Regions from separate parts of the Homo sapiens genome. Here region 1 is linked to region 2. Evidence: promoter capture Hi-C in human tissues and cell types (Jung and others, 2019). All regions are on one chromosome and are shown on one strand. Each heading gives the region's core, a stretch centred on a gene start or on the middle of the fragment in contact. The rest is flanking DNA. Distances are from core to core; before and after follow the strand shown.

The links. The method cuts DNA at HindIII sites, captures the fragments that hold promoters and counts their contacts. A contact is called where the count stands out against the background at its distance.
Region 1: a fragment that was not itself captured here is called in contact with the fragment with the promoter of KHSRP in region 2 in 2 of the 25 tissues and cell types used here (IMR-90 fibroblasts and spleen).

The regions. Positions count from the first base shown.
Region 1 is chr19:6,880,317-6,884,359 of GRCh38, reverse strand. No RefSeq gene overlaps it. Among named protein-coding and RNA genes, the nearest start is that of ADGRE1, 5.2 kb to the left of the region's middle. The HindIII fragment of the contact is 4,197 bases long and covers 535-4,043 here.
Region 2 is chr19:6,422,875-6,426,882 of GRCh38, reverse strand. KHSRP (KH-type splicing regulatory protein) reads left to right here and starts at 2,072. Exons shown (of 19, transcript NM_001366299.1): 1 at 2,072-2,430. The coding sequence starts at 2,182. SLC25A41 (solute carrier family 25 member 41) reads left to right here. Exons shown (of 7, transcript NM_173637.4): 7 at 322-846. The coding sequence ends at 494. RefSeq lists an enhancer at 1,645-1,764. The HindIII fragment of the contact is 26,210 bases long and covers 1-4,008 here.

The DNA of each region.
Region 1 (4,043 bases), core at 1,384-3,883, 460 kb before region 2:
GTGGCTTTCTGTTTGTGCCTTCATTCTTTCCCCGTTGGCCCCAAGAATACTAGCTGGTGGCGCTTGTGGCTGCAGCATTTACCCAGAGATAACTTTGCCGTGAAATATCTCACCTTTATTATTATTTTTGCATTGCTCTAGTGTATCAACTTTGAAAACAAAAGACATGATTCTATTTATAGTGTTCTGTTTTTAGTAGGGATATTTCCAGATTACTATATTTTACAAAATATGGTATTTTTTACTATATACTATAGTATATTTTACAAAATACAGTAATTCTTGATTGCTGAAAATGTCAGATCCTAGAAAAGTGTAGCATTCCTACGCATGATGTTACTATCATTCTCAAACAGTTGTTGGCTGAAAATTTATCTGATGAATCCAATTTTTCCAAAATTGACGATTCTGATGTTAGTTCTGGTTAGAAATAACTCCAAGAACTGTTTTTATATTTTATTTTCACATTGAAAATCAGTCAGATTTGGCTGGGCACGGTGGCTCACACCTGTAATCCCAGCACTTTGGAAGGCCGAGGTGGGTGGATCACCTGAGGCTAGGAGTTCAAGACCAGCCTGGCCAACATGATGAAACTCTGTCTCTACTAAAAATACAAAAATTAGCCCGGCATGGTGGTACGTACCTGTAGTCCCAGCTACTTGGGAGGCTGAGGCAGGAGAATAGCTTGAGCCTGGGAGGCAGACGTTGCAGTGAGCTGAGATCGCACCACTGTACTCCAGCCTGGGTGACACAGCAAGACTTGGTCTCAAAAAACAAACAAAAACAACAACAACAACAAAACAAAACCCCAAAGAAATATGAATAAAGTGTGTTTTTCTAAAAGAAAAAAAAAAGAAAAGAAGTCAGATTTGCTTCAGCCCCAAAAAGGGTGTTTATGTAAAATTAAGTAAGTGCTGACAGCCAGTTGCACTTTTTTTTTTTCTTAAGGGGAAAATAAGGGACACTGCCTGGAGAGGCTGAACTTAAGAGTCAGCATGAAAATACAGTAAATTCCACCAGGAAGGGGTACAAACAGAGCTGCATTGTGGTTTCCGGAAGCACTGGAGATGAACTCTGGAAACATATTGCCAGAGGTTCAAATCCCACCTCCACTGCTTGCCTCAAATATTCTCATCTGTAAAATGGGCGCATTAAGAATAGGATCTCACCCAGGAGCAGTGGCTCATGCCTGTAATCCCAACACTTTGGGAGGCGGGTGGATCACTTGAGGTCAGAAGTTCGAGACCAGCCTGGCCAACATGGTGAAATCCCGTCTCAACTAAAACTACAAAAAATTAGCTGGGCGTGGTGACACGTGCCTGTAATCCCAGCTACTTGGAAGTCCAAGGCAGGAGAATCACTTGAACCCGGGAGGTGGAGGTTGCAGTGAGCTGAGATTGTGCCACTGCACTCCAGCCTGGGTGACAGAGCAAGACTCTGTCTCAAAAAAAAAAGAGTAGGATCTGCCTCATGGACCTGGTGTGGGCATCAGAGGAGTGAGTATATATGGCATACCAAGAACAGAGCCTGGCACCCAACGTTCCAAGTGTTGGTTATTGCAGTGACAGGAACTGAACTCAGACAGCCATGGGTTCAAATCCTGACTCTGTAAGGTATTTCCAAAGTGACCACAGGAGGTGATTCACCTCTCTGAGCCTCAGTCTCTTATCAGGAGAATAGGGATAATGATCAGCCCTGTCCCACAGGATCCTTGAGCATGTAGGGATGCTGGAAACCGCTCAGCATATGCGGCAGGTGAGTGCCTGCCATGAGCTCCATAAACAGAAACACCAGCTCTAACTTGTTGGCTTCTGACTCTTGGTGTCTTTTGACTTCTCATTTCCCTTGGTTGAGATGGTTGGTATTGTTATCAGGCATGGATGATGTCCACACGCCCAACACCCCAGGGTTGCTGGGGAAAAGACAGGATTGTCCTCCCCATTGTAAGATACAGAAAGCCAGAGGTGAGGAAGCTATTACTTGGCCAGAGGAGGCCTGACCCAGGTTGGGGGTTGAGAGAATGGCCTCCCAAAGGAGCTAACGTCTAAGCTTAGCCCTGGAGAATGAGCAGGAGATAATCACACTTAGCAGAAAAGGTAATACAAAAGAAAAATAAAATAAAGCATGTGCAAAGCCTCATTAAGTTTGAAAGAAGCTGCTGTCTGAAGAGGGCACCTATCCAGACTTCCACAGCTCTAGGATTCCCTCTGCAATTTTTTCGTTTGTTTTTTGAGACCAAATCTTGCTCTGTTGCCAGGCTGGAGTGCAGTGGCGCGATCTCGGCTCACTGCAACCTCCGCCTCCTGGGTTCAAGCAATTCTCCCACCTCAGCCTCCCAAGTAGCTGGGACTAAAGGCACATGCCACCATGCCCAGCTAATTTTTGTATTTTTAGTAGAGAAGGGTTTCACCATGTTGGCCAGGATGGTCTCTATCTCTTGACCTTGTCATCCACCCACCTCAGCCTCCCAAAGTGCTAGGATTACAGGCATGAGCCACCAGGCCCGGCCCCCTCTGTAATTTTTAAATTTTTAAAAAATTTTTATTTCTTTTAGAGAGTCTCGCTCTGTTGCCCAGGCTGGAGTGCAGTGGTGCAATCACAGCTTACTGCAGCCTCCATCTCCTGGGCTTCAGCAGTCCTCCCACCTCAGCCTCCTGAGTAGCAGGACTACAGGCACCTGCTACCATGCCTGGCTAATTTTTTTTTTAACACTTTTTGGTAGAGATGGAGTCTGGTAATGTTGCCCAGGCTGGTCTCTGGTCCTGAACTCCTGGGCTCAATCAATCCTCCCACGATACCCTCCCAAAGTGCTGGGATTGCTGGTGTGAGCCACCGCACCCAGCTTCCTTCTACATTTTTCTGTTCCACGCTGTATCCAGAGTCCAGGATTATAGGAAAAAGTGCAAGCCTCTGGCAGTCCATTCCAGTAGATAACATTACCCGAAAGGGAATTCTGGGGGTAGAAGGAGAGCGAGGACTAATGTTACCAGAGGATGGGAGGTGAGCAGGGAGAGCTACATCTGTGGTCTCTGCAGAGCAGACACTTGTCCAGGGAAATCCTTTTCTTTACAATCTTTGTTAGCCAGGCATGGTGGTGCACACCTGTAGTCTCAGCTACTTGGGAGGCTGAAGCAGGAGAATCGCTTAAACCCGGGAGGAGGAGAAGGTTGCAGTGAGCTGAGATTGTACCACTGCACTCCAGCCTGGGTGACAGAGTGAGACCCTGTCTCAAAAAAAAAGAAAAAAAAAAGCCTGCAGGTGGATATTTGGGTGTCTGAGACCTATGAGAAACACCAGCTCTAATTCGTTGGCTTCTGAGCCTTGGTTTATTTTGACTTCTTATTTCCCCTAGTTAATATGTGAGGTCTATGTGCTCTCTTTTTTTCTTTTCCGTTTTTGGGCCAGGCACAGTGGCTCACACCTGTAATCCCAGCACTTTCAGAGGCCGAGGCGGGTGGATCACGAAGTCAGGGGTTTGAGATCAGCTTGGTCAACATGGTGAAACCCCGTCTCTACTAAAAATACAAAAATTAGCTGGGTGTGCTGGTGGGTGCCTGTAATCTCAGGTACATGGAGGCTGAGGCAGGAGAATTGCTTGAACCTGGGAGGCAGAGGTTGCAGTGAGCCTAGACTGCACCATTGCACTCCAGCCTGGGCGACAGAGCAAGACTCTGTCAAAAAAAAAAAAAAAATTCTTTTTTGAATTGACAAATTAAATTGTATATATTTATGGTGTACAACATGGTGTTCTGAGATACGTATATGTGGTGGAATGGCTAAATCGAGGCAATAAACCTATCTGTTCCTTTGCATGCACGTCATTTTTTTGTGGTAAGAATAGTTACATCTACCCTCTTAGCAATTTTCAAGGATATGCTACATTGTTCATTGTTATTAACTACAGTCACCATGTTGTACAATAGATCTCTCGAACATATTCCTCTTGTTCAACTGAAACTTTGTATTCTTTGAGCAATGTCTCTGCACCCACATCTTCTCCATATGCTCCTGATCATAGAATGCTGAATGTGGGGTCTCAGCGT
Region 2 (4,008 bases), core at 823-3,322:
GAGGATCCCTTGAGTTCTGGAGGTCGAGGCTGCAGTGAGCTATGATCGTGCCTCCACACTCCAGCCTGCGCAACAGAGAGAGACCCTATCCCCACTCCCACCCCTCAAGAAAATTTCCTAAAATTAATCCTGATAACTACTACTCAGAAACTCCCCCACTCCTCCTCAAACTGACCAATTTCCTCTAAGACTCTTCAAACTGTTTTCCTACTGACCCCTGGGGCCCCTACCCGTGGCTTCAGCACCTGTCCGCAACATTCCAGACTCCTAGGAGGCCCGGTCATCTCTGGCCTAGTCCTGATCTTGCCTGTGTCCCTGCAGATACCGTGGAGGGCTCAAATCCCACCATGCGCGGAGTCCTCCAGCGGATCCTGGCCCAGCAGGGCTGGCTAGGGCTGTACCGAGGCATGACCCCCACGCTACTGAAGGTCTTACCAGCAGGTGGCATCAGCTATGTGGTGTACGAAGCCATGAAGAAAACCCTGGGCATATAGGCTGTGAGCTGGACGACACAGCCTAGGCAGAAATGGGACAGGAGGACCTGATGACCCCTGGCCCCAAAGAGCCCTCGAGGCCTCAAGGTTCAGGCCCTGGGGCAGTTTTTGGTGGCAAAAGCAGGCTGGGGGTGGGGGTGGGGCTCTGGGTCAGAAGATTCCTGAAGCTGGGGTTGGTGGTGGGTGGAGGGGGGCAGTGCTGGGTCAGAAAACTCCTGGGACTCCCTCCCCAGGGTGCAGCCTGAGACAAGAAACGTGGACTCCAGTCTGGCCCCTTGTGGGTCGTCCTGGCTCCAGGGCGAAATGGTGAACATGTCACACAACAAGGAATAAAGAGATGGTTTTTGCTGAACGTGTCTGGATACTTGGGCCTAGGAGTGGAACTGGGTGCATGAGATCCCTGGACCCAGTAGGGGAGCTGGGGACCTTGGGCCTCTGGGTCCTGAATGGGAATTTGTGTCCAGGAGAGGAAGTGAGGACCTAGGATAGGAGCTTGAGGCTTGGATCCCAGGGCCTTAGGCGAAGGGAGTGAGGGGTGTGAAGTGAGGGGTGTGATCGAGGCTGTGATCCCTCGATCCCGGTTGTTGGAACGGTTCTGGACTCGTGAGTGGGGCTGGTTCCTTGAGTCCTGCAAGAGAACTGGACGCTCTAGATGGGGGGTCGAGAGAGAAGAAGGCCCGGGGGATCCCGAGTTTCCTGCTTTCCGGCCTCCCCACCTCCGGAAGCGCTCGATCTCTAAGGCTTCAAGCGGGCCACGTGCCGGGCCTACCCAACCAGGCTGCCGGTGAGCTAACCCAGACATCAGGCCTGAGTTCGGGCAGCCGATTGCCACCGCCCACGTCGGCTGCCATTCACTACAGTTCCCGCTAATCCCCTCGCTGTCTGGTGGCCGACTCCGCCCCAATGCAGCGGCGCTTCCACTGGCTCCCACCAAAAGTGGGCGCTTTGATTTCCTTCATTCCCATTTGTCCAGACCAGTGTCAGTCACCGAACACCCACCCATGTCGCTCAGCCATTGGCTTAGAAGTCAGGGATAGAAAAGGATTCTGGTTAACAAGGGAAGCAATTAAAGTCCAAAGCCAACCTCATCACCCAGAACTCGTCAGGAATTGGATTAATTGGCTGCCCATCTTTACAAGCACCACCTCTCACGTGCATTCATTGGCTTGTGTCCACGACTATCAAACCTAACGCCCACCCAGCCGGTCCATAGGAGTCTTCCACTAGGCCCGGCCTTACAGTCCACGTGACTCTTCAGAACCGTCAATCTAATTCTGAAGCCGCCCCGCGAATCTGGCACTCGCGTTTCATTGGGCCTCCTGCCTTCTCAGATCTCCTTCATTTGCCCGCCCAGCACGGGCAGCTCGCAGCTATTGCCTCTGAGAGCTGTCAGTCACTCTGAGCCTCCCGCCCACTGCCCCTCATTGCACTCCGATTGGCCACCTCCTACAGAGCTCGCGATTGGTGTCCGGGGTGCGGCGGCTGCCTCCCATTGGCCCGCCGGAGTCGTCCGTCACGTCGGCGGCGGGAGGGGCGACTCTCTCCCCCCTCGTCGTCCTCCCAGCGGCTGGGTTCCCAGAGTGCTCCGCGGCCGTGTGGAGCGAGGCCTTGTTCCCGCGTTGAGCCGCCGCCGCCGCCGCCGCCTCCTCAGCTTCAGCCTCCGCGCCAGGCCCGGCCCCGCCGCGCCATGTCGGACTACAGCACGGGAGGACCCCCGCCCGGGCCGCCGCCGCCCGCCGGCGGGGGCGGGGGAGCCGGAGGCGCCGGGGGAGGCCCTCCGCCGGGCCCGCCAGGCGCGGGGGACCGGGGCGGCGGCGGTCCCGGCGGCGGCGGCCCGGGCGGGGGGTCGGCCGGGGGCCCCTCTCAGCCACCCGGCGGAGGCGGCCCGGGAATCCGCAAGGACGCTTTCGCCGACGCCGTGCAGCGGGCCCGCCAGGTGAGGAGGCCGAGGGCCTGAGGGGCGCGCTCGCGCGCGCGCGCAGGCGGGGGAGGGGGCGGGGGTCACGTGCGCGCGCGCGCGCAGGGTCGCGGAGGGGGGCCGGGGCCGTCGCGGGGTCACGTGGGCGGTAGGCGGGGGCCTGGCCCTCCCGCTGCGCCTCGAGTGGGATCCCAACGGGTGACCCCCCTGCAGGGAGTAGGGGCGCACTGGGGGTCACCAGGAGCGGCGCCTGGGTGTGCAGGCGCCCCGGAGCTCGGAGACGCACTTTTGGGACCCCCCCCTTAGCCCCCCGGCCTTAGGACATGCCTGGAGGCAGGGGTCCACCTTCCCGGGCGGAGGGCCTTTACTCTCCCCTCCATATCAGGGCAAAGGGCAGTGTTTGCCCCCAACCCAGTCCCATTTCTGTCCCCTCTCTAGGAGAAAGGGACATTGTGGGGGTGGGAGGGACAGTCCTTCCTCTTCAGTCGGGAAAGTGGATGGGGACCTGTCTAGGGCTGAGCACTTGGGCGAAATGGGGAAGACGAGCATGGGGACTGGCTCTTGGATGCTTTGGTGGCTTGAAAGCGTGGTCTGTCTCTTTGGGGGAAAGAAGGGAGGGTCTCCCACCCCCGTGTATTGAGGCGTAATGACAAGGAAGTGTCACATGCTGCTAGGACTGACCTCTCCAGCTCCATTTGCAGCCTCCCCATGGCCTGGAGGGGTGGGGGTCGGTAGAATGGGAGGACTTTGCCGCCGACCGGCTCCTGGGCTGTCCCAATGCCTCCGGGGCTAGAGACTGGCTCCTCCCAAGGTGGGAGGTCCCGTTAAGTGAACGCCTGTGTTCTGGCCCTCTGTCGTCTCTCTCACCCTTGGAGTTGGGTGGGTTCTAGCGTGCATTTGGTCTTATTGCCCATGGAACCGTCTGATTCTGGGACAGCTTGAAGGGAGGAAGCTGGTGCTGTCAGTTGGTGGGGACAGGCCCCCTGTGGGCATCCCATGAGTTTTGGCTCTAGGGCAGCGTAGAAAAATGGAGACTGGTGGAAAGGGAGATTCTTAACATGGTTTGGGTTTCTAAACCCCAGACTCTGATCCTAAGTTTGCTGGGTTGAGGTTTCTTTAAAGTTGCTCTTCACGTGTCTGAGATGTAACTTGTGTCCCATAGAGTCTTGGTTTTTTGTTTGTTTGTTTGTTTTTTGGAAACAGTCTCAATATCACCCAGGCAGGGGTGCAGTGGCACGATCTCAGCACACCACAGCCTCCACCTCTCCAGTTGAAGTGCTCCTCCTGCCTCAGCCTCCCGAGTAGCTGGGATTATAAGTGTGCACCACCACACCCAGCTAATTTTTGTATTTTTAGTAGAGATGGAGTTTGACCATGTCAGCCAGTCTGTCTCGAACTCCTGAGTTCAAGTGATCTGCCCGCCTCGGCCTCCCAAAATGCTGGGATTACAGGCATAAGTCACAGTGCCCAGCCATCCAGAGAGTCTTCTGTTTTGGTCAAATGAGGATTTCATATCCCTTGAAGTGATCGCTTTGCTCAAATTTATTCAATAAATTGATAAAAGGATTTTGAGAGTGGGGGAGATAGGGGAAAATT